Regions from separate parts of the Homo sapiens genome. Here regions 1, 3, 4, 5, 6 and 7 are each linked to region 2. Evidence: promoter capture Hi-C in 16 types of primary human blood cells and fetal thymus (Javierre and others, 2016). All regions are on one chromosome and are shown on one strand. The core of a region is centred on a gene start or on the middle of the fragment in contact, and the rest is flanking DNA. Distances in the headings are between cores, read along the strand shown.

Region 1 (3,063 bases), core at 489-2,988, 360 kb after region 2:
TCTTTTTTTTTTCTCCCAATAAAATAACAATGATTTGTAATGGAGCATATATTTGTAGGAATAGAGATTATACTTATAGGAAAGAATTTGTTCTCATTTTACTGTGGGCATTTATTAAAATGAGAATTTAAAGTTAGCATAGCATGCTATACCTTTTAAAAAAAGTCTATGCATTTCTAATGCTGAACATAAAAACATTACTGGTTATTTTTATATGGTTTGATATTTAAATGTACTTATTGAAATATGTTAATACTTTTTTTCTTTCAATGATTCCAGGTATAAAAATGTTTAGTACCCTGGTCATTGTGCTGATTTTCTCTTAATAGGAATCATGATAAATATCCAGCATACAGAAGTGCAGTGAGTTATGATCTATATTCAATAGTGATTTAATCCAGAATTATGATCAGGTTAAATACTATGATATTAGGAGAAGATTTAAGTTTTAGTGGTAGTCATCTGATTTCCCATATTTAATAATTAAGTACAATAGCCATTTTTATTTATTTAATGGTCTTAAATAATACCTAAAGTGTTAGACCTTGAAAGCCTGAAATCTCCCATATGTTGTTTACTTTATTCAATGTTCTTTTTTTAGACTATAGTTTTTGCTGTTATACTATCTTCCTTATTCTACATGCCTTTGGTAGCTATTTTGCTTTTGCTTTTTACTTCCAATTTGTGACATACAGTCTTGATTGAGAGTACTTGCAACGTCATGCCACAGACCAGCTGTTGAGATTTGTTGACGGGACCATAAGAAAGCTACAGCTGATACATTCCATTCCTCCTGCCTCTGTTTTCACACTCTGTAGTGGGTTTTCATTTTCCCTGGAAAATATCCTTTCTTTACACAGTTAACTGCCACCTCTGTTGTGGCAGTCCTCAGTCAAGATACAGCAGACTAAACATTTCTGATTTGATCAAGTTTTGTTTTGTAAGCGTTTAAGTAAAGCCAAAGGAAATACTCAGTTTATGTGTTAAATACAATTCCTGACTAGGATATGAGAGTTGGTTTTAAAAACATTATATTATGGAATGGAAAAACAAATTTACAATTTAATACTTCCCTGTGGGTTTGGAGACTCTTTTTCTTACTTGTTACTTATACGATATAATATGGCAACCCAGTTTAATATTATACCATGGATAATACTAACAGATGAATTCTAAAAGTTGTTTTATGACAGTTAATGGCTGATAAATTAAAATTGATTTGGCAGTACATTGCATTTAAACAGTTAAAAATGAAACAATTTTCTGCTTGTTTTCACTTTCACAGTTATTTTATTTTATTTTCAGAGAACGATCTCCTCAGCAGAATATAGTATCTTGTGTAAGTGTAAGCACCCAGACAGCTTCAGATGATCAAGCTGGTAAACTGTGGGATGAACTCAGTCTGGTTGGGCTTCCAGATGCCATTGATATCCAAGCCTTATTTGATTCTACAGGTATGGGCATGTTTTCAATAATGACTGCCTCTTAATTCTGGAAGCATTTTAATTTTAATACATTATTAATGTCCTCAATAATAAATACCTTTCATCTAGAAATAATTATAATCATACTATAAAAAAATCATTATTAAATATGCCTGGTTAGGTAAAAGAAAAGGTTTATCTATTTAAAATCTGTACAGTACCACCACCGGACTGGATGCTTTTTAAAATACTTGTATTTTTTCTTGTGTAGATAGCGGTGCCATGGAGATCTGACAATTGAGAAAAGAGAAAATTTTAAAGGGGAAAATTTTAAAGTGAGAACTTGGGGAATGTGGCATTCTGAGTCTATTTTATTTGGGCATGAATGAAAATAGGTCTTAGCCGGGTAGATTATCTTATTATAACAGTATTGTAACTCAGCACTCATGATATGGTGCTACTGGAATTTAAAGTACATCTCATTCTGTAGTTGAACTGCAGATTGACTGATAGTGGTTCAAGTGTTATGTGATGGATAATTTAAAGGCTGAAGTGTTAATAATCATTGATACGTGCTCTCACTGTGGGATGAGGGAAGTAGAGGTGTATGTGTAGTTTATTTTCTATACATTTCCTTTGTATATCACCTCAACAAAGTACTAAGTAATACTTTGTTTGCTTTATATAAAGATACCAGAAACATATCAAATACATATATAATATTTAAATAAAATGACTAAAAACTAATTTTGTTTGTTGAAGAAATAATCACTAATTCAGTTATTCTTAAACTTGTGTGTGCATCATAATAACCAGACGGCTTGTTAAATCACAGATTGCTGGCAGGGCACGGTGGCTCACAGCCCGTAATCCCAGCACTTTGGCAGGCTGAGGTAGGTGGATCGCTTGAACTCAGGAGTTCAAGACCAGACTGGGCAACATGGTGAAACCCTGTCTCTACAAAAAATGAAAAAAATTCCCGGAGTGTGGTGGCATGTGCCTGTAGTCCCAGCTATTTGGCAAGGCTGAGACAGGAGGATTGCTTGAACCCTGGAGGTTGAGGCTGCAGTGAGCTGTGTTCATGCCACTGAACTTCAGCCTGGGCAACAAAAAAAGTGAGACCCTGTCTCAAAACCAAAACAAAACAACAACAACAAAAAAAAACAGAACCAAACACAGATTGCTGGGCCCCACTGCACGAGTTTTTGATTCAGTAGATCTCACTTGTGATCTGCGCTTCTGCATTTTTTTGGTTTTTATTTTGAGACGGAGTCTTGCTCTGTTGCATAGGCTGGAGTGCAGTGGTGCGATCTCAGCTCACTGCAACCTCTGTCCCCTGGGTTCAAGCGATTCTCATGCCTCAGCCTCCTGAGTAGCTGGAATTACAGGCGTGCACCACCACGCCCAGCTAATTTGTAGAGACAGGGTTTTGCCATGTTAGCCAGGCTGGTCTCAAGTTCCCAGCCTCAAAAGATCCACCAGCGTTGGCCTCCCAAAGTGCTGAGATTACAGGAGTGAGCCACTGCACCCAGACAGATTCTGTATTTCTAAGAATTTCTCAGTTTGATATTGATACTGGCACTCAGTGGTTGGTCCACATTTTTAGAAGGGCCACTTTACTGCTATCACAAATACAGGA
Region 2 (3,510 bases), core at 267-2,766:
TAGAAGTGGGGCACACAGGGCCAGGCGCGGTGGCTCACGCCTGTAATCCCAGCACTTTGGGAGGCCGAGGCAGGCAGATCACAAGGTCAGGAGTTCGAGATCAGCCTGGCCAATATGGTGAAACCCCATCTCTACTAAAAATACAAAAATTAGCCTGGCGTGGTGGCACGTGCCTGTAGTCCCAGATACTTGGGAGGCTGAGGCAGAAGAATCACTTGAACCCGGGAGGCAGAGGTTGCAGTGAGCCGAGATGGTACCACTGCACTCCAGCCTGGGCGAGAGTGCAATGAGACTCCGTCTCCAAAAAAAAAAAAAAAAAGAAAAAAAGAAAAGTAAGTGGGGCACACGATTCAGGCCTAAGCTAACCAGACCAACCTCATTCCTGATGGTTGTTAATGTTTCAGATACGGGCCCGCAGCCCTACGTAGAGAAGAGGCCAAGGTAGAAAACATGAATCTGAGGTAAAAAGAAATGAGGTACTTGTTTGCCTCATCAAGCCTCTCAATTAAACTAACCTTGAAGCCTGTCTTACCTTTGGACTTCTAGTGATGTCACCCGGTAAAGCCCATTTGTTTCAGGACGTAAGAGTTGGGTTTTCTGTGACTTGGAACCAAAACCATTCCAATTTACAAAATGAGCAACTTTAATATTACCCATGAGAAATACTTCATTGGTATATGCTCTTTCCTAGCGTTTTTGAAAACTAAACTAGGTGGGTGAAAAGTATATCTTTGCATGAAACTTTTTCATTCCAGAAAACATTTTGTCATCTTGATAATAATGGCCAATGCTACTATATCCAAATTTTTGTCTTTTTTTTTTTTTGAGACAGAGTCTCGCTCTGCCGCTCAGGTGTGATGGCGCGATCTCGGCTCACTGCAACCTCTGCCTCCCTGGTTCAAGCGATTCTCCTGCCTCAGCCTCCCTGAGTAGCTGGGATTACAGGCATGCGCCACCACACCTGGCTAATTTTTGTATTTTTACTGTAGACGGGGTTTCACCATTTTGGCCAGGCTGGTCTCGAACTCCCGACTTCCAGTGATCCTCCTGCCTACCTCAAAAAGCAACTTGATAAATCCACAGGCTCGGTATATTTTAAAAATTCTTTTAAATACAGTATACTTTTCTCTTTTTTTCCAGAATTAACCATGAATCGCACACACAGCCAGAGGCTTTTAACCCGAGAACGGACAAAGGGGCCTGCTTGTGCAATACAATTATTTTTAATGGTTAAACAAATTAATACATAAGACCAGCTTTACCTAATATAATAATAACGAACCAAAGTTTACAACAGACAAGAAAAGCACCAGCTGTCCCCGCCACCCCGGAGCGATCTCCAAGGGGACGCGGGAGAGCGCCGCGGGGGACGCGGAAGTCTGACGTCACAGGAACTGGGGGCGGGGCGGGGAGGCCCGCACACCCTATTGCGCATGCTCCCGCCTCCCCGGCCGCGGCCTGGCGCAGTGCGCACGCGCGCGGGTGGGCGGGTTTGACTGGCCGTAGAGTCTGCGCAGTTGGTGAATGGCGTTGGTGGCGGGAAAGTTGAGTCTCTCCTGCGCCGAGCCTTCGGGGCGATGTGTAGTGCCTTCCATAGGGCTGAGTCTGGGACCGAGGTGAGAGCCGCCGGGTTGGGAGTGAGGGAGATGGGAACAAGGCCGCCGGTGGGCGAGGGGAGCCGAGGGAACCCGGGGGATTGGGAGGCTTGGGGCGGCGCGGCCTGGCCGGGCTGGGACCGGCCTCTCGGCCTAGACGCCCGCGATGCTGGCACCCTCTGCCACCTCTCACCTGGGCCCCAGGGGTCCGCCCCTGGGCAGCCTGGAGTCCTCCGAGGTGGGAGGACCGGGCGGAGGTGGAGGAAGTCTTTCTTTGGAAGACTTGCTGCCTGCCCAGATCGATATAACATACGAGGTCTCTCCTCCCAAGAGTTATGGTCTAAAAACCCCTCACAAATTAACTACCGTTGGAAATGTCAAGCTATGCAAGAAAAGCTAGAAAAGGGGAGGGGTCGCCCGTTGGAGCATTTGGAGCTTTTCTGGAACAGGTGGTGTTTGCGGAGGTTGCCTCACCTCCCTGTAGCCCACGTGTCTCTGCTTAGGGCAGCTGGCCCTCGCCACCCCCTAGTATTCGTTTCCAGCCCAGGTAGCTCCAGAGCCACACAAGCCGGTGGATGCCCCTCAAGAATTGAACCAAGTGTCCAGCACTTACTGTGTGTCAACTACGTGTTAAGGGATAGGAGTAAGCAACAAAAGACATAACTTCTGCCATTAAAGAACTAGTAAGGGAGGCTGCTGTAAGAATTACAGTATTGCACAAAAGTTTGTTGTCCATTAGAGGGGCGGGCATCATGGAAGATGCAGGAGGAGATGACTGAAGTTTCAAGGACCATTTGAAATGGTTTGGCAAGGAGAGGATGACATTCAGAGCGGAGACAGTCGGGAGTACATGGATTCTGAATTAAGCAAGAGCATGGCTAATTTAGATAACTGCAAGTATTTCTGTAAAATTGGAACAAAGGGAGTGAGGGACAATAGGTTGGGAAGTAAGCGCTGAGCAGTGGGCAGGGTATGAAGGATCTTTTATGCAGATGAGAGAGGAAGCAATCTCAAAAGAGTCAGCAAACATTTTTGTGGAGGGCCATGTGGTAAATATTTAGGCTTTGCAGGCCATGCCGTTTCTGTCACAGCCACTCAACTCTGCTGTTCTAATGGGAAGGCAGTCATAGATAAATAAAGGCACATGGCAGCGTTCCAATAAAGCTTTGTTTTTTGGATTTAGCCTGCTGGCCATAGTTTGATAATCCCTGTTCCTAAAGAGTAGAACCACTGCTTAGTATAAGAACGGCTACAGTTATAAACCATAGATATATATATATTTAAAAATATATTTATATATAATATATATTTAAAAATATATTTATATATAATATATATTTAAAAATATATTATATAAATATATATTTAAAAATATATTTATAATATAGATTATATAGAAAGTATATAATACATATAAACATATTTTTTATATATAAATATATATTTTTTTGAGATGAACTCTCGCTCTGTTGCCCAGGCTGGAGTGCAATGGTGCCATCTCAGCTCACTGCAACTTCCGCCTCCCGGGTTCAAGCGATTGTCCTGCCTCAGCCTCCCAAGTAGCTGGGATTACAGGCACACGCCACCACACCCAGCTAACTTTTGTATTTTTAGTAGAGACAGGGTTTCGCCGTGTTGGCGAGGCTAGTTTCGAACTCCTGACCTCAGGTGATCCGCCTCAGCCTCCCAGAGTGCTGGGATTACAGGTGTGAGCCACTGCGCCCGGCCAAAACCTTATATTTAAATGATTATTTGAAACCCAGGTTAAGGTCCGATGATTTTTGCAATCAGAACAAGCCTTGTATCCAAAAAATGAGAGTCTAGCACAGTTAAGTCATGGAACAAAGAATTTAACATCATATCCTTTGCCTGCCTTGTCTGTGTGGCAATCCTAAGCCTAGCTCATACTACTCTG
Region 3 (3,066 bases), core at 425-2,924, 500 kb after region 2:
ATTCTGCGTAGGCAAAGCCTCCTACGATGTGATGAGACTTGTCCTCTCTCCAAATTTCTACCTTTTAACTTTACATTCTAAATTAATTTTAGGCTGGGCGCAGTGGCTCAGGCCTGTAATCCCAATACTTTGGGAGGCCGAGGTGGGCGGATCACTTGAGGTCAGGAGTTCGAGACCAACCTGGCCAACATGGTAAAACCCTGCCTCTAGTAAAAATACAAAAATTGGCCGGCTATGGCGGCAGGCACTGCACCTGTATTCGCGGCTACTCAGGAGGCTGAGACAAAAGGATCACTTGAACCCAGGAGGTGGAGGTTGCAGTGAGCCGAGGTCACGCCACTGCACTCCAGCCTGGGAGACAGAACGAGACTCTGTCTCAATTTAAAAAATAATAATAATAAATTTTAGAGATTTCCGAACTGAAAGGACTTTCCCTTTAGGAACTTTCCATGGTGAGATAGGGTTGTAAGTTAGTGGTGATGAATCATAAGAATGTTTCCTTTTTCAAAGTGGCTAAAGTCAAAGCCAAACCTATGCCCTAGTTATAATAAGGAAATAGTTCTTTAAGATATGCTTTTTAGTTTTATGTCTTTTAGTCTTATATCTCTACCTCCATGTTATATTCTTTTAGTTTCCTTTTCTTCTACCTTAGTTGTAATTTATGCCTCTTTCTGCATTTTATATTTTGTGTAAGTTGCCTGTAATCTTACTCTTAATTTCCCTTTTTTCTTCCACCTTGTTATAATTTATGCCTCTTGCTATGCTTTGTATTCTGTGTAAGTTGCCTGTAATCCTGTCTAGAAGGAAGTACAATATAAAATAGTCCAACAATTTATACATTTACTTAATCTTTATAGATGAGGCCTACTTGTCCTTTTCTCTAAGTTTATTCTATCCCATCATCAAACCTGTGCCTTTGTAGTCTCATGTACTGAGGCCTGTAAGTCCCTCAATAGGTATGAAGACCTATCTTCATTCAAACATCATCCCCGAATCAGCTTCCTCCATCGAACCTCCCTAAATATAGATAAAAGAAACTCTTCCTGAAAAAGTCCAGTAGTATTGTTCTTATCTCTGAACAATTGATTTCATCTGCTTGGTTGTTCTTCCTTTGTCTTCATTTTTGTTATCTGTTAAATCTTAAGCCTTTAGAGCTCAGATATGGTGTTCATTATAGGATTCTTAGCAAAATCTTACTTGCATATGAATACTGTAAATACTTTTTAATGGTGATAGCTTTGCTTTTGTAAGTCATAGTATTTGGCAACATTTTGTATGTACAGTTTAATTGAAGACTTTTCTTTTTTTCAACTTAACTCTAAATTTAACATAATACCTATTTGCTTTTTTTTTTTTTTTTTTTTTTTTTTTAAAAGATTTGGATTTCCAGGAGGTAGTCATGGTACCATGCCGAGTCAAGAGCGCTTCCTTGTGCCTCCTCAGCAAATACAGGGATCTGGAGTTTCTCCACAGCTAAGAAGATCAGTATCTGTAGATATGCCTAGGCCTTTAAATAACTCACAAATGAATAATCCAGTTGGACTTCCTCAGCATTTTTCACCACAGAGCTTGCCAGTTCAGCAGCACAACATACTGGGCCAAGCATATATTGAACTGAGACATAGGGCTCCTGACGGAAGGCAACGGCTGCCTTTCAGTGCTCCACCTGGCAGCGTTGTAGAGGCATCTTCTAATCTGAGACATGGAAACTTCATTCCCCGGCCAGACTTTCCGGGCCCTAGACACACAGACCCCATGCGACGACCTCCCCAGGGTCTACCTAATCAGCTACCTGTGCACCCAGATTTGGAACAAGTGCCACCATCTCAACAAGAGCAAGGTCATTCTGTCCATTCATCTTCTATGGTCATGAGGACTCTGAACCATCCACTAGGTGGTGAATTTTCAGAAGCTCCTTTGTCAACATCTGTACCGTCTGAAACAACGTCTGATAATTTACAGATAACCACCCAGCCTTCTGATGGTCTAGAGGAAAAACTTGATTCTGATGACCCTTCTGTGAAGGAACTGGATGTTAAAGACCTTGAGGGGGTTGAAGTCAAAGACTTAGATGATGAAGATCTTGAAAACTTAAATTTAGATACAGAGGATGGCAAGGTAGTTGAATTGGATACTTTAGATAATTTGGAAACTAATGATCCCAACCTGGATGACCTCTTAAGGTCAGGAGAGTTTGATATCATTGCATATACAGATCCAGAACTTGACATGGGAGATAAGAAAAGCATGTTTAATGAGGAACTAGACCTTCCAATTGATGATAAGTTAGATAATCAGTGTGTATCTGTTGAACCAAAAAAAAAGGAACAAGAAAACAAAACTCTGGTTCTCTCTGATAAACATTCACCACAGAAAAAATCCACTGTTACCAATGAGGTAAAAACGGAAGTACTGTCTCCAAATTCTAAGGTGGAATCCAAATGTGAAACTGAAAAAAATGATGAGAATAAAGATAATGTTGACACTCCTTGCTCACAGGCTTCTGCTCACTCAGACCTAAATGATGGAGAAAAGACTTCTTTGCATCCTTGTGATCCAGATCTATTTGAGAAAAGAACCAATCGAGAAACTGCTGGCCCCAGTGCAAATGTCATTCAGGCATCCACTCAACTACCTGCTCAAGATGTAATAAACTCTTGTGGCATAACTGGATCAACTCCAGTTCTCTCAAGTTTACTTGCTAATGAGAAATCTGATAATTCAGACATTAGGCCATCGGGGTCTCCACCACCACCAACTCTGCCGGCCTCCCCATCCAATCATGTGTCAAGTTTGCCTCCTTTCATAGCACCGCCTGGCCGTGTTTTGGATAATGCCATGAATTCTAATGTGACAGTAGTCTCTAGGGTAAACCATGTTTTTTCTCAGGGTGTGCAGGTAAACCCAGGGCTCATTCCAGGTCAATCAACAGTTAACCACAGTCTGGGGACAGGAAAACCTGCAACTCAAACTGGGCCTCAAACAAGTCAGTCTGGTACCAGTAGCATGTCTGGACCCCAACAGCTAATGATTCCTCAAACATTAGCACAGCAGAATAGAGAGAGG
Region 4 (3,219 bases), core at 482-2,981, 350 kb after region 2:
TCTCATGAATTTGGTGGTAAAAGGAAAGACAGAGAAGAGGCGCTTGAAAGGACTTTAAGATGTTTTTGTTTGTTTGGGGTTAGTGATGCAGAAAGGTCTAAATAAATTTCAAATTAGAAAAGAAGGAGCCAGCCAAGAGCATGGAACTGCATCATGAGCACTGGTGGGGAGGTGTAATGTCCCTTCATTGTAGTAATAGAGCATGACAGACAGAGTGGACATATAATTTTTATTAAACAAGAAGAATGATGTTAGGGGTAGTGGTGTGTGGAAATCCTCTCAGCTGTTAGGCTGCCTCCTGAGAAAGAACATTTAAGGTGTTTGGGGTTGGATTCAAGGAGAATGGAAAAAGGCAATAAAGTGAAGGTTTGTCCTTTTCAAATATTAAGCTTTTAGAATGGGTAATAATTAAGATACATGATGAGTCTTTTAATGATGATTTTATAAAGTGTGAAGCAATTTTTAATGAGTCACTTTGAAATACATTTGTTCTGTAGACCAATTGCTATAATCCTGAAATAAGATTTTTTTTTGGCCGGGCACAGTGGCTCATGCCTGTAATTCCAGCATTTTGGGAGGCCGAGGCAGGTGGATCACCTGAGGTCAGGAGTTCAAGACCGGCCTGGCCAACGTGGTGAAACCCAGTCTCTACTAAAAATACAAAAATTAGCCAGGCATGGTGGTGGGCGCCTGTCATCCCAGCTATTCAGGAGGCTGAGGCAGGAGAATTGCTTGAACCCGGGAGGCAGAGGTGGCAGTGAGTCGAGATCGCGCCATTGCATTCCAGCCTGGGTGGACAGAGCGAGACTCCATCAAAAAAAAAAAAAAAAAAAAAAAAATCTTTTTGTTGTTGTTGTTGTTGTTGTTGTTGTTGAGGTAGGATCTAGATGTGTTGCTTAGGCTGGAGTCCAGTGGTGCCATCACAGCTCACTGTAGCCTCCGCTGCCGGGGCTTGATTGATTCTCCCACCTCAGCCACCAGAGTCGCTAGGACTACAGGTGTGTGCCACTATGCTTAGCTAATTTTTTGTAGAGATGGGGTGTTACCATGTTTCCCAGGCTGTCTTGAACTACTGGGCTCAAGCAATATGCCTGCCTCAGCCTCCCAAGGTGCTGGGATTACATGTGTGAGCCACTACACCTGGCCAAAAATAAGATTCTTTTTTTTTTTTTGAGACAGGGTCTGGCTTTGTCACCTAGGCCTGAGTACAGTGGCACGATCCCAGCTCACTGCAGCCTCTGGCTCCCAGGTTCAAGGCATATCCTTCCATCTCAGCCTCCTGAGTAGCTGACATTATAAGCACTCACCACCTTGCCTGGCTAATTTTTACATTTTTTGTTGAGATGAGGTTTCACCATCTTGCCCAGGCCAGTCTGAAACTCCTGAGCTCAAGGGATTTGCTTGCCTTGGCCTCTCAAAGTGCAGGGATTACAGGCATGAGCCACCATGCCTGGCCAAGATTCTTAACATTTATTACTAGGATGAAACTTCTCTGAGTCAGCTATAATTTGGGCACAAGGAAAAGTATACCATGCTTCACATTATTTTGATAATCATTTTGCGGTAGAGAATAAAGATGCACAATACCACTAATTACGTGCATGAACTTTTCTTGTGTTAGTGAAATATTGTTATTTGTTGTTTCTTTTTACATTATGACCTATGCTTTATAGATACATTCACCAGTGATTAAAATAAACACAAAAATGACTCTTTGTTTTCTCTTGTTTACTGTTAAGCAGAAATCAAAGAACAATCTGCAGAAGAGGATGCTGAAGCAGAAGTGGATAACAGCAAACAGCTAATTCCAACTCTTCAGCGATCTGTGTCTGAGGAATCGGCAAACTCCCTGGTCTCTGTTGGTGTAGAAGCCAAAATCAGGTTAGAGAATGAATGCAGCTGGATTGGATATTAGTGACAGGAATAAAGCAGTGAAATGACTATAGAGAAAATTCAAGGAGTATGAGTTTAGGATGAAAATCTGGGTGGGATTTTATGATTTAGTAGCTAAATTTGAAGCTGATACCTCTGTGTTTAGTTGGGATGAGTTACATCTGTGGGCTTAGGCAATTGTAGAGCAGGGCAGCACACTACGGTTTTACTCTAGTCACCTCAGGCCAGTACAGAATATTACCAATGTGCTGTTCCTGGCAGAAGACATAAATGTGAGCATTTAGCATGAGGATTAATTTTTGATACTTACCTGTAAACTTAAGTTGATAGTTTTGTTCCTTACCTTCTCCCCATTCATTAAAAAAGGAAACACAGGACATTATAACCTATTTTTTTTCTTTCTTTTTCTCCCCCCCCCCACCACCCCTCCCCCCCTCCCTTTTTTTGAGATGGCGTCTTGCTCTGTCACCAAGCTGGAGTGCAGTGGTGCCATCTCAGCTCACTGCAACCTCCAATTCCCTGGTTCAAGAGAGTCTTCTGCCTCAGGCTCCTGAGTAGCTAGGATTATAGGCATGCACCACCATGCCCAGCTAATTTTTGTGTTTTTAGTAGAGACAGGGTTTCACCATGTTGGCCAGGATGGTCTCGATCTCCTGATCTCATGATCCACCTGCCTCGGCTTCCCAAAGTGCTGGGATTACAGGCATGAGCCACTACACTGGGCCTGTAATATATCATTGTATAATTCAGCTTTGAAGTTTTAAGAGTTTTTAGACCTTATTTGAAAGACATGAATAAAATAATGAAATTATCCATCAGTTTGGTACTCCCATCTCCTTCCTTCCCTCCCTCCTTACCTGTCTCCCTCCCTTCTTTCCCTCCTTCCTTCCCGCCCTCCTTCCCTCCCTTTCTCCCTCCTTCCCCTCCATCCCTTCTCCCTCCTTCCTCCCTTCGTTTCCCTTCTACTTCCTTTTCCTCTTCCCTTTTCTTCCTTTCCTTTCTTTTTTTTTTTATTTTTTGAGGCAAGGTCTTACTCTGTTGCCCAGGGTAGAGTGCAGTAGTGTGATCACAGCTCACTGCAGGCTCAACCTCCCAGGCTCAGGTGATCCTCCCACCTTAGCCTCCCAGGTGGCTGGGACTACAGGTGTGTGCCACCATACTTGGCTAATTTTTAAGCTTTTTTTTTGGTAGAGACTGGGTCTCTTTATGTTATCCAGGTTGGTCTGGAACTCCTGGGCTAAAGCAATCCTCCTGTCTCAGCCTCCCTAAGTGGTGGAAGTGCAAGCATGAACCACTGCACCTGACCTCTCTCATCTTCTTGAACCA
Region 5 (3,137 bases), core at 590-3,089, 390 kb after region 2:
GCTGGGATTACAAGTGTGAGCCACCTTGCCTAGTCCTACACATTTTTAATAAATAACAAAATTCACATTTGTTATAATCCACTGATCTCATCAGAAAAGTCTTTAAGTATTGGAATTAGTTAAGCTTACATTGTTGGATATAAGTTTTTCAAATCTTCTTATTGTCCACTCATGTTCTAAGTTGTTTTCCTTGAAGTGACAGGCTCACTTTATTCCTTTTTTCAAGAAATATGTTAGATAATCAAGTTTTAATAATTGTGGTTTGTTATTTGTTCTTACATGTAAAACCGGTGTTCCATGAAAAAAGCATTTATTTCAGTTTATAAATCACATGATCACAAATTCTTTCCTCAAGAAAAACTATGGTGTAACAATTATTTTACTCTTTATTTCTCGTTTTGTCACATAGATAATTAAAAGATGTGTATTCATGGATCAAGACTTAAAACATTAATGATTTTTGCTGCTTCATCAGTGATATTCTCAATGATACTCTACATTATTTTTACTGTAGTTGTAGTGCCAATTGAGAATGTGACAACTTCTAATACAGCTTGGTGCCAACTGCTTTCAGTTTTGGAAATGCATCAACAGTTTTACCCACCATAGCTTTTGCATCGTGTAACAATTTTTGCTTCAATTGTTAAACATTATTTTGAAAACTCAAGGAACAGTAAAGTCTGTTTTATTGCCCATATTTTTACTATTTGTTTGTTCTTTCTTCCTTCAGGATGTTCTGAGAATCCTTCTTTTTATCATTCTCCTTTCTGGTTCAATAACTTTTCTCACTATTCTTTTGGTGTAGTTTTGTCTCATGACTAATTTTTAGTTCTCATTCATCTCACAATTTCTTGATTTCCCTTTCATTACTAATGGATGTTTTTGCTGGATATAGAATTCTTTGTTGTCAGTTCTTTTAGGACTTGCAAAAATGTTATGCTGCTTTGTTCTGGCCTCCATGGTTTCAGGTGAGAAATCTGCTGTCATTTGAGTTGTTTTTCATCTGTGGATAAGGTGTCATTTCTCTTATTTATCTCAGGGTTTTTTAGTTTAGTCATTAGTTTTCAGAAGTTTATGATATATATTAGCATTGATTTATTTGTGTGTATCCTCTTAGGATTTATTCAATTTCTTGAATCTGTGGGTCTTCGAATAATTGTTCAGCTGCGTCATGTTCCTTTTCTGAGATTCCAGTGACAGGAATGTTGCATCACTTATTATAGTCCCACAAGTGTCTTTAATGTCTTTTTTAAAAAAAAAATATTTATTTATTTATTTATTTATTGTCAGAGTTTTGCTCTTTTGCCCAGGCTGGAGTGAAGTGGTACGATCTCAGCTCACTGCAAACTCCGCCCCTGGGTCTAAGTGATTCTCCTGCCTCAGCCTCCTGAGTCGCTGGAATTATAGGTGTGTGCCACCATGCCCAGCTAATTTTTGTATTTTTAGTAGAGACAGGGTTTTGCCATGTTGGCCAGGCTGGTCTTGAACTCCTCACCTCAGGTGATCCACCCATCTCGGCCTCCCAAAATGCTAGGATTACAGGCCTGAGCGACCGCACCTGGCCACTTTTTTTTTTTTTTTTTTTTAAATCAGTTCATTTTCTTCTCTTGTTTAGGTTGGGTAATCTCTCCCATTTTGTTGTTCAGCTTAGTTTGTATTTTATTTTTGTTAGCATATTTTTTAGTTTTCAACTTGGTATTTGTTTCTTTCTTGATTTCTTTGCAAAACTTTGTATTGTTTCCTTTGTTTCAAAAGTATGTTTGTAATTGCTTTTTTTTTTTTTTTTTTTTTTTGAGGCAGACTCTTGCTCTGTTGCCCAGGTTGGAATGCAGTAAATGATCTCAGCTCACTGCAACCTCTGCTTCCTGGGTTTAAGTGATTCTCATGCCTCAGCCTCCTGAGTAGCTGGAATCACAGGCGTGCACCACCATGCCTGGCTAATTTTTGTATTTTTAGTAGAGATGGGGTTTCATGATGTTGGCCAGGCTGGTCTCGAACTCCTGACCTCAAGTGATCCAACCACCTCTGCCTCCCAAAGTGCTGGGATTGCAGGCGTGAGCCACTGTGTCCGGCTGTAATTGCTTGTTGAAGCAGTGTTATATAGTTTAAAATCTTTGATAGATAATTATGACATCTATGAATTCTCATTGTTTGCACCTTTTGACTATATTTTCAAATTCCTGTTCAGATTTTCCTGGTTCTTAGTATGGTATAACATGTTATATTTGGTTGAATCCTTTGCATTTTAAGTGTTGTGTTATGAAGCTCTGCATTTTATTTAAATACCCCCTTTTAGTAGGATTTATCTGAAACTTTGCTTTTGGGGTGGAGGTGGGGCACAGCCTTGTTACTACTCCCAGGTGTATGTGAAGATTCCAGTTCCTTAGTAGGCCTTTGTTGACTCATTGATGGAGACGTACACCTAGTAAATGCTGAGTAGGAGTGAAAACTCTGGACTTGCATTACACCTTTGTGAATACCACCCTGGCTCAAAAGGTTCCTGCTTTTCACTTGGCCTCCACTGAATGGGATGGAGGGGTGGTTAAGTTATCACTGGGCAGTGCTTTGAGTTTGGATTCTCCAATAGGCCTCTCCTGTCATATCTCTGTAGAGGGAGGGATAGGGATATGTCCTTATCACTGGGTGGGTGTTGAACTCAGGCTCCCCACTTTTTTTCCACCCACACTCTAGAGGGAGGAAGCCGCGTTACTGCTCAGTGGGTATGAATGTCCTGTGTCCCAGTTGGCCTGCTGTGGTATCATGTTGTCCGTGGGCAGGAGTGGGGAATGGCTGACTATGTCCTCCTTTTAAGTCTTTGCAAAAGGTATATGGCTTGGGCTTTTATTTGTACCATTTGGCTTAAACTGGTTTGTTGTTGTCTATGAGTTTTTTGTCTTGGTAGCCTGCCGCTTCCCTGCTTTTTTGACAAAAGACAGCAGAATTTTCTTGGAGTTTTACGTATGTGTGTGCCTGTTGGTGTTTCTGAGTTGTCTGCTTCTCTAGCAACTTTTCTTGTATATATGAGTCAGAAAGGAAACCTAGGGAATTCATCCTCTTTTGTTTCTTGGCTCCTGAAGCCCTAATTGGTCTGCCCTCTCTCTACATTTTGTTGTCTTCTTTTGTTTGTCTTATGTATC
Region 6 (3,183 bases), core at 656-3,155, 420 kb after region 2:
TTTTTTTTTTTTTTTTTTTTTTTTTGTAGAGAAAGAGGTGTTTTGCCTTCTTGCCCAGATTGGTCTCGGATCCCTGGCTTCATGCGATCCTCCCATCTTGGCCTCCCAAAGTGCTGGGATTACTGGCATCAACCATCACACCAGGCTGGCCATGCTATTGTTTTAGAGTTGAGCAGACTTACTCCACAAAAATTACTTCCTGCTCCTAGCATATGTTTCTTTTTTTGAATTTTGAGTTGCTGTCTTTTTGGTTTTATCTCTTCCACCTATATGTTTTCCTGGATATCCCCATTCCCTTATTTAAATTTTCCTGGAGATTTTAGTGCAGATTTTGTGAGGCCACATCAGACATTGAAAACAGCTTTTTAAAAGGTGTATACCCTAAGGCCAGGCGCAGTGGCTCACACCTGTAATCCCAGCACTTTGGGAGGCTGAGGCAGGCAGATCACTTGAGGTCAGGAGTTGAAGATGAGCCTGGCCAACATGGTGAAACCCTGTGTCTTTAGTAAACACAAAAATTAGCTGGGTGTGGTGGCACACACCTGTAGTCCCAGCTACTCAGGAGGCTGAGGCAGGAGAGAATCACTTGAACCCAGGAGGCAGAGGTTGCAGTGAGCCAAGATTGCGCCACTGCACTCCAGCCTGGGCAACAGAGTAAGAGTCCATCTCAAAAAAAAAAAGCATGTACCCTAAATTAGTGTCATGAAAATAAAAGCTTAATGTATAATCCACAAATGATTCATGACTTTTTAAAGGTTTACATCAGAACTACAATTACAAATGCATAACAAACTGTTTTTGTTTTTATTTTTCCTGGTGTTTAGAATTGCAGAATATGTATAGAGTGTGGCACACGGTCTAGTTCTCAGTGGCACCACAATTGCCTGATATGTGACAATTGTTACCAACAGCAGGATAACTTATGTCCCTTCTGTGGGAAGTGTTATCATCCAGAATTGCAGAAAGACATGCTTCATTGTAATATGTGCAAAAGGTAAGAAGATAGTTATTCTATTCAGTTGTTTTGTCGATTGTTTTATTCATGTGGTCATTTGCTCTACCATCTTACAGCTTCTAAGTTTTTATCACTCTAGCAATTCCATCAGTACTGATTGCTGTTATAGATGGAATTAAATGATGTTTTTGAGTCTCAAAGGCATAAGGAAGTAAATGGGCAAAAGATAAGACCAGACCACATCAGAAATGAGCACTAATAGGGAAAAGTAAAGAGAAAATAGCTTAAAAATGTCAAGTAAAAATACGGCAGCATCTCTAGTGACATGCACAAATGTGCTTTAAAAAACCTTTGTCAGTTAGCAACTCCTCTAACCTCTCTCCTCTCATACTTAATTAACTGTTTTCATATCCAGCTTTTCAGCAATGCCTTCTCTTTACCTAGATAATAACTCGATGTTAGAAATTTTTATTTAAGTATACTTATCACTGCAGGTGGGTTCACCTAGAGTGTGACAAACCAACAGATCATGAACTGGATACTCAGCTCAAAGAAGAGTATATCTGCATGTATTGTAAACACCTGGGAGCTGAGATGGATCGTTTACAGCCAGGTGAGGAAGTGGAGATAGCTGAGCTCACTACAGGTAAATTTGAGAATGATTTTTTTTTAAATTTTTTGTTTTTGTAATGTTGTGCCATTGTATCACCAATATATTGCTTTAATCAGGAAGAGAGGATCCTGTATTCCAGATTCCATCTTGTTCTCAGTTTCTCAACCTTTAAATGTATTTGTTATCTTGGTCATCTCTGAATCTGATGGCTAAAATCTAATCTAACTTAAGATAGTTTTTTTTAGTATTTGAATTCCGGGTCTAGTGTGCTTTCCTTCACTTGTGTTCTTCAGGCCGACAGTGGAAGTTCCCCAGTCTTTGGGTTTGCTTAGTTTGTTCTTTATAATGTGGGTTATTTTTCTCTAAGCATGTTGTAGTTTTGTAATGTCCTTCTTAAGTTAATTATCACCTTTTCAGCCCAAGATTTTGTTCAGGTATGGAATATTTTTAGTAGTATCCTACTGTTAAAAACATGAGTCTTAGAGAGTAAAGGAAATAGAACTGCTCGCCAGATTGTTTTTCATTTTCATCATTATGAGTGGCAGCTTTTGTAAAACTTCTCTTTATCATCTTCAAGGATAACTAAACATCTTAATTACTAACCTTTCATTTCCAGAATGCCATCAGTATTTAGTTTTGAAATATCCTTTTAAAATAATGTGCCAGTTACCTTTTAAAAAAAATTGTTTTAGAGATGGGTTCTCACTATGTTGGCCTGGTTGGTCTTGAACTCCTGGCTTCAAGCGTTCCTTCCGTCTTGGCCTCCCAAAGTGTTAGGATTACAGGCATGAACTACCACGGTTGGCCCACCTTTTGATGCATTATAATTTTCATGTTTTTTAAAAATGTAAATATACATGTGGTTCAACAGAGAAAAATCTGAAGAAAAACTTAAAGCATTTTTGGTGATGATTTGCCCTTACTCATACAAAATCATAATTGTTGACTTAATGAACAAAGAAAAAAACTCATTCTGAGCTAAAGAATTAATAATTTTTTGTTAAGATTATAACAATGAAATGGAAGTTGAAGGCCCTGAAGATCAAATGGTATTCTCAGAGCAGGCAGCTAATAAAGATGTCAACGGTCAGGAGTCCACTCCTGGAATTGTTCCAGATGGTAAGAATGTTTAATGGATATACTCTGTTTTTGAAGAAAATGTGTATATACAATAAATATGTGAATATTGACTAAAACTTCAGTAAAAGCCAAGATGCAGTCACTTAGGAAGAGTTTTTTAGTAAAATAATCTTAGACAAATTAATAGGAGAAAGGACATGCGTGTATTTGTAGTTCAGCTACCATCTAGACTTAATCATAAGTACTTACTTGGTTAAGGGACCAAGTGATTTTCTATTAAAAAGCAATTCGTATTTTTATTTCTTTAGTTGTAGTTGCTAAGTAGAGCTGTTGCTGATGATGAGATGTTTCATGCTGAGATAATGAAAAATTTACTGTATTGGATCATCTCAGCAGTCCTATTGAGGGTTATTTCACTTATTTCCATGATGTTTCAATTAAGCTTTTTGTAGTAAATATTGATAAGAGCTATTATTGTACTTGCAGATCTGGAATTAATAAGAGACCATGTTGGGGGAAAACTACTTGTTACATT
Region 7 (3,216 bases), core at 457-2,956, 480 kb after region 2:
TTTGCAATTGAACTACTCTTTTCACTTTATAATGGAAAATTAATGACTAAAGGCTTTTTTTTAACATGTCATTCATTGTAGCCTATTATATCAATTTTAATGATTTATTCAGATATAAAATCCTTTAGGTAGGGGCAAACTTGTAAAACAGTCTTTAAAAAATTAGTTATAATTGTATAGTAGAATTCCATTACTTTAAAACAAAAAACTGCTATATGACTCCTAAAAAAATTATCCAGATTTTTTTTCATTCAACTACAGTGTTGTCATTATTGAAATAATTTTCTCTAAAAAGTTCCTGGATATTTGGGCACGCAAAACTTAATGTGATATGTTACATATGAATTACATTTTGAAAACTATATAATGGGACCAAGACTGTTTGACAGAAGTATTTGACCTGGAATATTACATTTATGCCCTCCTCCCCCTTTTAAGTAAAAATAAGCTTGAGATGGATTAAAAATTTCAGTTTCTCTTTACTGAATGACTAATATAATTATTAAAGCTAGCCTAAACAAGAGTTCCAATAGTTTCTTGGTTAAGCCCAAACCCGTAGAATCCTCCTTGACTTTTCTTTCCCTTTCATTCATCCACGTTTGTGTCTGCCTTCAAAATACGTCCCAAAGCCGACCACTTGTCTCAGCTTTCCTTAGAACCCTGGTGCTGTCATCACCTCACCTCTCAGACTGCACCAGTGCCCTTTTCTAATCTTACCAGCCCCTCTCTAATTCCCACCCCTCATCTGCTCTACATATAGCAGCCAGTATGTTCCCTTTAAAATATTAGTCATCTCCTATCTTTCAGCCTCCCAGCAACTTCTCATTACACTTCAGAATAAAACCCAGTCTTCCCCATAATCTCTAAAATCTTAACATAATCTTGCCCTAGCTGCCTCTTTTTTATCCTTACCACAGTTTTTCTTACTGTTAACACTCTGGCCTCTCGTTGGCAAACCCGGCTTGCCCCAGGGGCTTTATGTCTGCTTTGCCTTAGTTTGGAGGGTTATCTCCATCTTTGTGCATATAACTTACTCCCTCATTTAGTTTTATGCTCAGTCATCTCCTAAAGGTCTTCATAGACCACTCTGTCTAATACAACATCCCCGCAGCTTATTTTTAATCCTTTTTCCTTGTTTTTTCTTTAAATAGCACTTACAGCGATGTCGTTTATTTACTAACTCCCCCTGAGAAAGTAAGCCCTCTGAGGGCAGGCACTTTGTTTCAGTCATTACTGAGTGGGCAATGCCTGATACGTGATCCATAGACACAGTTCTGTGGGTAGTGAAATACTTTTTAAAATAAATGAGTGAGTAATCAGTATGAACAGCAAAGCTGCAAGTAGTTACTAGATGGTACCTGGCTTGTGCTCCATATGGAATTTCTGGCTTGTGCTCCATATGGAATTTCTAAAGAGTGACAGGTTTGTCTTTCATATTTTAACTTTTCCTACTGTGTTTTAATTTCTCAATGTCACTTTTAGACATGCCACTTTCTTAATGAAAAACTTTTTTTTCTTTGCTTTGTTTCTTACAGCATTTATTCTGTTTCACTTTTATTGCCTACAGGTCTTTAAATTTTGTCTCAATATACATTAGTCACAAGACAAAATCGTCTGAATTTTTAGTAAATTTTTGTAATTCAAAACATTATCTCCTTTGCTATGGAAAATTTTTACTGTAAAATTAAGAGTCTCAGGTTTTTATTCCAGTACTTGCCTCACTCAGTATCTGCTGTACTCTAGGTTTTTAGCAAATGGCTTAATATCTGAGAAAATACTGAAATTTTAAAAAACATATTTACTATATTTAGGTCCTGCTGATGACCCATTAGCTGATATTTCTGAAGTTTTAAACACAGATGATGACATTCTTGGAATAATTTCAGATGATCTAGCAAAATCAGTTGATCATTCAGGTATATATGAATACTGTTTACCCTTTTTCTGGTTTCTGATGTGAGCGAGAGGTGTATGATGTGTGGAACAAGTTTAGCCTTTTGTCTGTTTCCCAGTAACTGTGTTTTTGTTTTTGGCTTTGTTAAAGGACTCAGCATTTTCTTTGATCTGCCTCAGCTTTCCTGCTTTAGGAGGGGTATAGCAAGTTAGTTAATTTCTGTCGTCTTTCTAATTGCATCACATTTAAGGCATGTTGCCTTAAAGTCTTGCTGTATCTTTTTTCTTCTTTTGTTTGTATTTTCCCTCACTTCCTGCTCCTGTGGTAATCATCCATTTTATTTGGTTTGGGTCTTATAGGTCTTGATTTATGCACTTTCCAGGTTGAGAGCTCACCTTTTCCATTTGGTAAGAAACTGAGCAATGGATGACGGCTGACTAGAAGTAGTCTTCTTTTTTTATAGTGATTTCAGCTGAAACAACCTGTAGGTGCATGCTGTTTATCAGTAGTGCTAATTTGTCACTAATCCATACTTTGCTTTTCCCTTTTTGTGTGTGGCTAAAGCATAGTATAGCTGTACTGTACTTCGGGTGACTTTCTCAGTAGTTTTTCTTTAATGAATAATTTTATTTTTGTTAATATGTGGTTTACAATATTACCTAAATGTCGTAGAGCTAGTTCCTAATATAAGATCAAATAAGAACAGACTAAATTTTTACTTTTTAATAGTAATAATATTGAGAAAGCATGAAAAAAATGTAGATGATAAACCACTTTTACATGTGACTCTTACAAATTTGAGCTGCAGCATGTTACAATTTTATAAAATGTAATGTACATAATCAGAATGTGCCTATAGAATACTTTAAAAATATTACCTATAATTGAAGTTATTTACAAAGGATAATATTAAACACTGAGCATTTTAGGGCTTTTCATTAATTCATATGAAACATATTCCTTTTTACATACTGTGCATAATAATTGAACTGTACATTTGATAACACTATTTTCCAAATTAAAGCAATTATTTGCATATCGATTTCTCATAAACTCCTATCTTAAGCTTTTTTTTTTTTTTGGCAGGAGTTGGCAAGTTAAAATCAGATGTATTCTTTTATTCCTCAGGAAATGTTTTTACTTGAAATAGAACTTTACATGGCACCGAATACAAATATATTGTGCCTAATTTTTACTGAGCGACTCTCCAAATTGATATGAGAATTCTGATTCAGAATTACAGACTTTATTTCTCTATTTTAATCATATTGTTATATACTAAGTACAGGTAAATAGTGCTATACATTTTTGTGTGAGTATTC

What was found. The method cuts DNA at HindIII sites, captures the fragments that hold promoters and counts their contacts. A CHiCAGO score of 5 or more calls a contact.
Region 1: a contact is called between a fragment that was not itself captured here and the fragment with the promoter of XRCC2 in region 2, in 7 of 17 cell types (monocytes, total B cells, erythroblasts and 4 more). The highest score is 9.0, in monocytes.
Region 3: a contact is called between a fragment that was not itself captured here and the fragment with the promoter of XRCC2 in region 2, in 6 of 17 cell types (erythroblasts, total CD4 T cells, total B cells and 3 more). The highest score is 9.2, in erythroblasts.
Region 4: a fragment that was not itself captured here is called in contact with the fragment with the promoter of XRCC2 in region 2 in 6 of 17 cell types (total CD4 T cells, naive CD4 T cells, megakaryocytes and 3 more); the score reaches 7.5 in total CD4 T cells.
Region 5: a fragment that was not itself captured here is called in contact with the fragment with the promoter of XRCC2 in region 2 in 1 of 17 cell types (total CD4 T cells); the score reaches 5.4 in total CD4 T cells.
Region 6: a contact is called between a fragment that was not itself captured here and the fragment with the promoter of XRCC2 in region 2, in 12 of 17 cell types (naive CD4 T cells, activated CD4 T cells, erythroblasts and 9 more). The highest score is 8.2, in naive CD4 T cells.
Region 7: a fragment that was not itself captured here is called in contact with the fragment with the promoter of XRCC2 in region 2 in 5 of 17 cell types (fetal thymus, erythroblasts, naive CD8 T cells and 2 more); the score reaches 8.5 in fetal thymus.

Annotation. Positions count from the first base shown.
Region 1 is chr7:152,310,189-152,313,251 of GRCh38, reverse strand. KMT2C (lysine methyltransferase 2C) reads left to right here. Exons shown (of 59, transcript NM_170606.3): 5 at 1,306-1,454. Among named protein-coding and RNA genes, the nearest start is that of KMT2C, 120 kb to the left of the region's middle. The HindIII fragment of the contact is 6,484 bases long and covers 1-3,063 here.
Region 2 is chr7:152,674,147-152,677,656 of GRCh38, reverse strand. XRCC2 (X-ray repair cross complementing 2) reads left to right here and starts at 1,516. Exons shown (of 3, transcript NM_005431.2): 1 at 1,516-1,616. The coding sequence starts at 1,578. RefSeq lists silencers at 1,270-1,739, 2,040-2,129 and an enhancer at 1,195-2,039. The HindIII fragment of the contact is 16,438 bases long and covers 1-2,761 here.
Region 3 is chr7:152,176,321-152,179,386 of GRCh38, reverse strand. It overlaps KMT2C (lysine methyltransferase 2C), which reads left to right. Exons shown (of 59, transcript NM_170606.3): 38 at 1,377-3,066. Among named protein-coding and RNA genes, the nearest start is that of GALNT11, 150 kb to the right of the region's middle. The HindIII fragment of the contact is 5,531 bases long and covers 1-3,066 here.
Region 4 is chr7:152,329,263-152,332,481 of GRCh38, reverse strand. It overlaps KMT2C (lysine methyltransferase 2C), which reads left to right. Exons shown (of 59, transcript NM_170606.3): 3 at 1,743-1,881. Among named protein-coding and RNA genes, the nearest start is that of KMT2C, 110 kb to the left of the region's middle. The HindIII fragment of the contact is 2,680 bases long and covers 392-3,071 here.
Region 5 is chr7:152,286,679-152,289,815 of GRCh38, reverse strand. The region is part of intron 6 of KMT2C (lysine methyltransferase 2C); the gene reads left to right. Among named protein-coding and RNA genes, the nearest start is that of KMT2C, 150 kb to the left of the region's middle. The HindIII fragment of the contact is 3,426 bases long and covers 127-3,137 here.
Region 6 is chr7:152,250,357-152,253,539 of GRCh38, reverse strand. KMT2C (lysine methyltransferase 2C) reads left to right here. Exons shown (of 59, transcript NM_170606.3): 10 at 825-994; 11 at 1,450-1,601; 12 at 2,574-2,687. Among named protein-coding and RNA genes, the nearest start is that of KMT2C, 180 kb to the left of the region's middle. The HindIII fragment of the contact is 2,375 bases long and covers 718-3,092 here.
Region 7 is chr7:152,194,607-152,197,822 of GRCh38, reverse strand. It overlaps KMT2C (lysine methyltransferase 2C), which reads left to right. Exons shown (of 59, transcript NM_170606.3): 28 at 1,812-1,916. Among named protein-coding and RNA genes, the nearest start is that of GALNT11, 170 kb to the right of the region's middle. The HindIII fragment of the contact is 2,512 bases long and covers 451-2,962 here.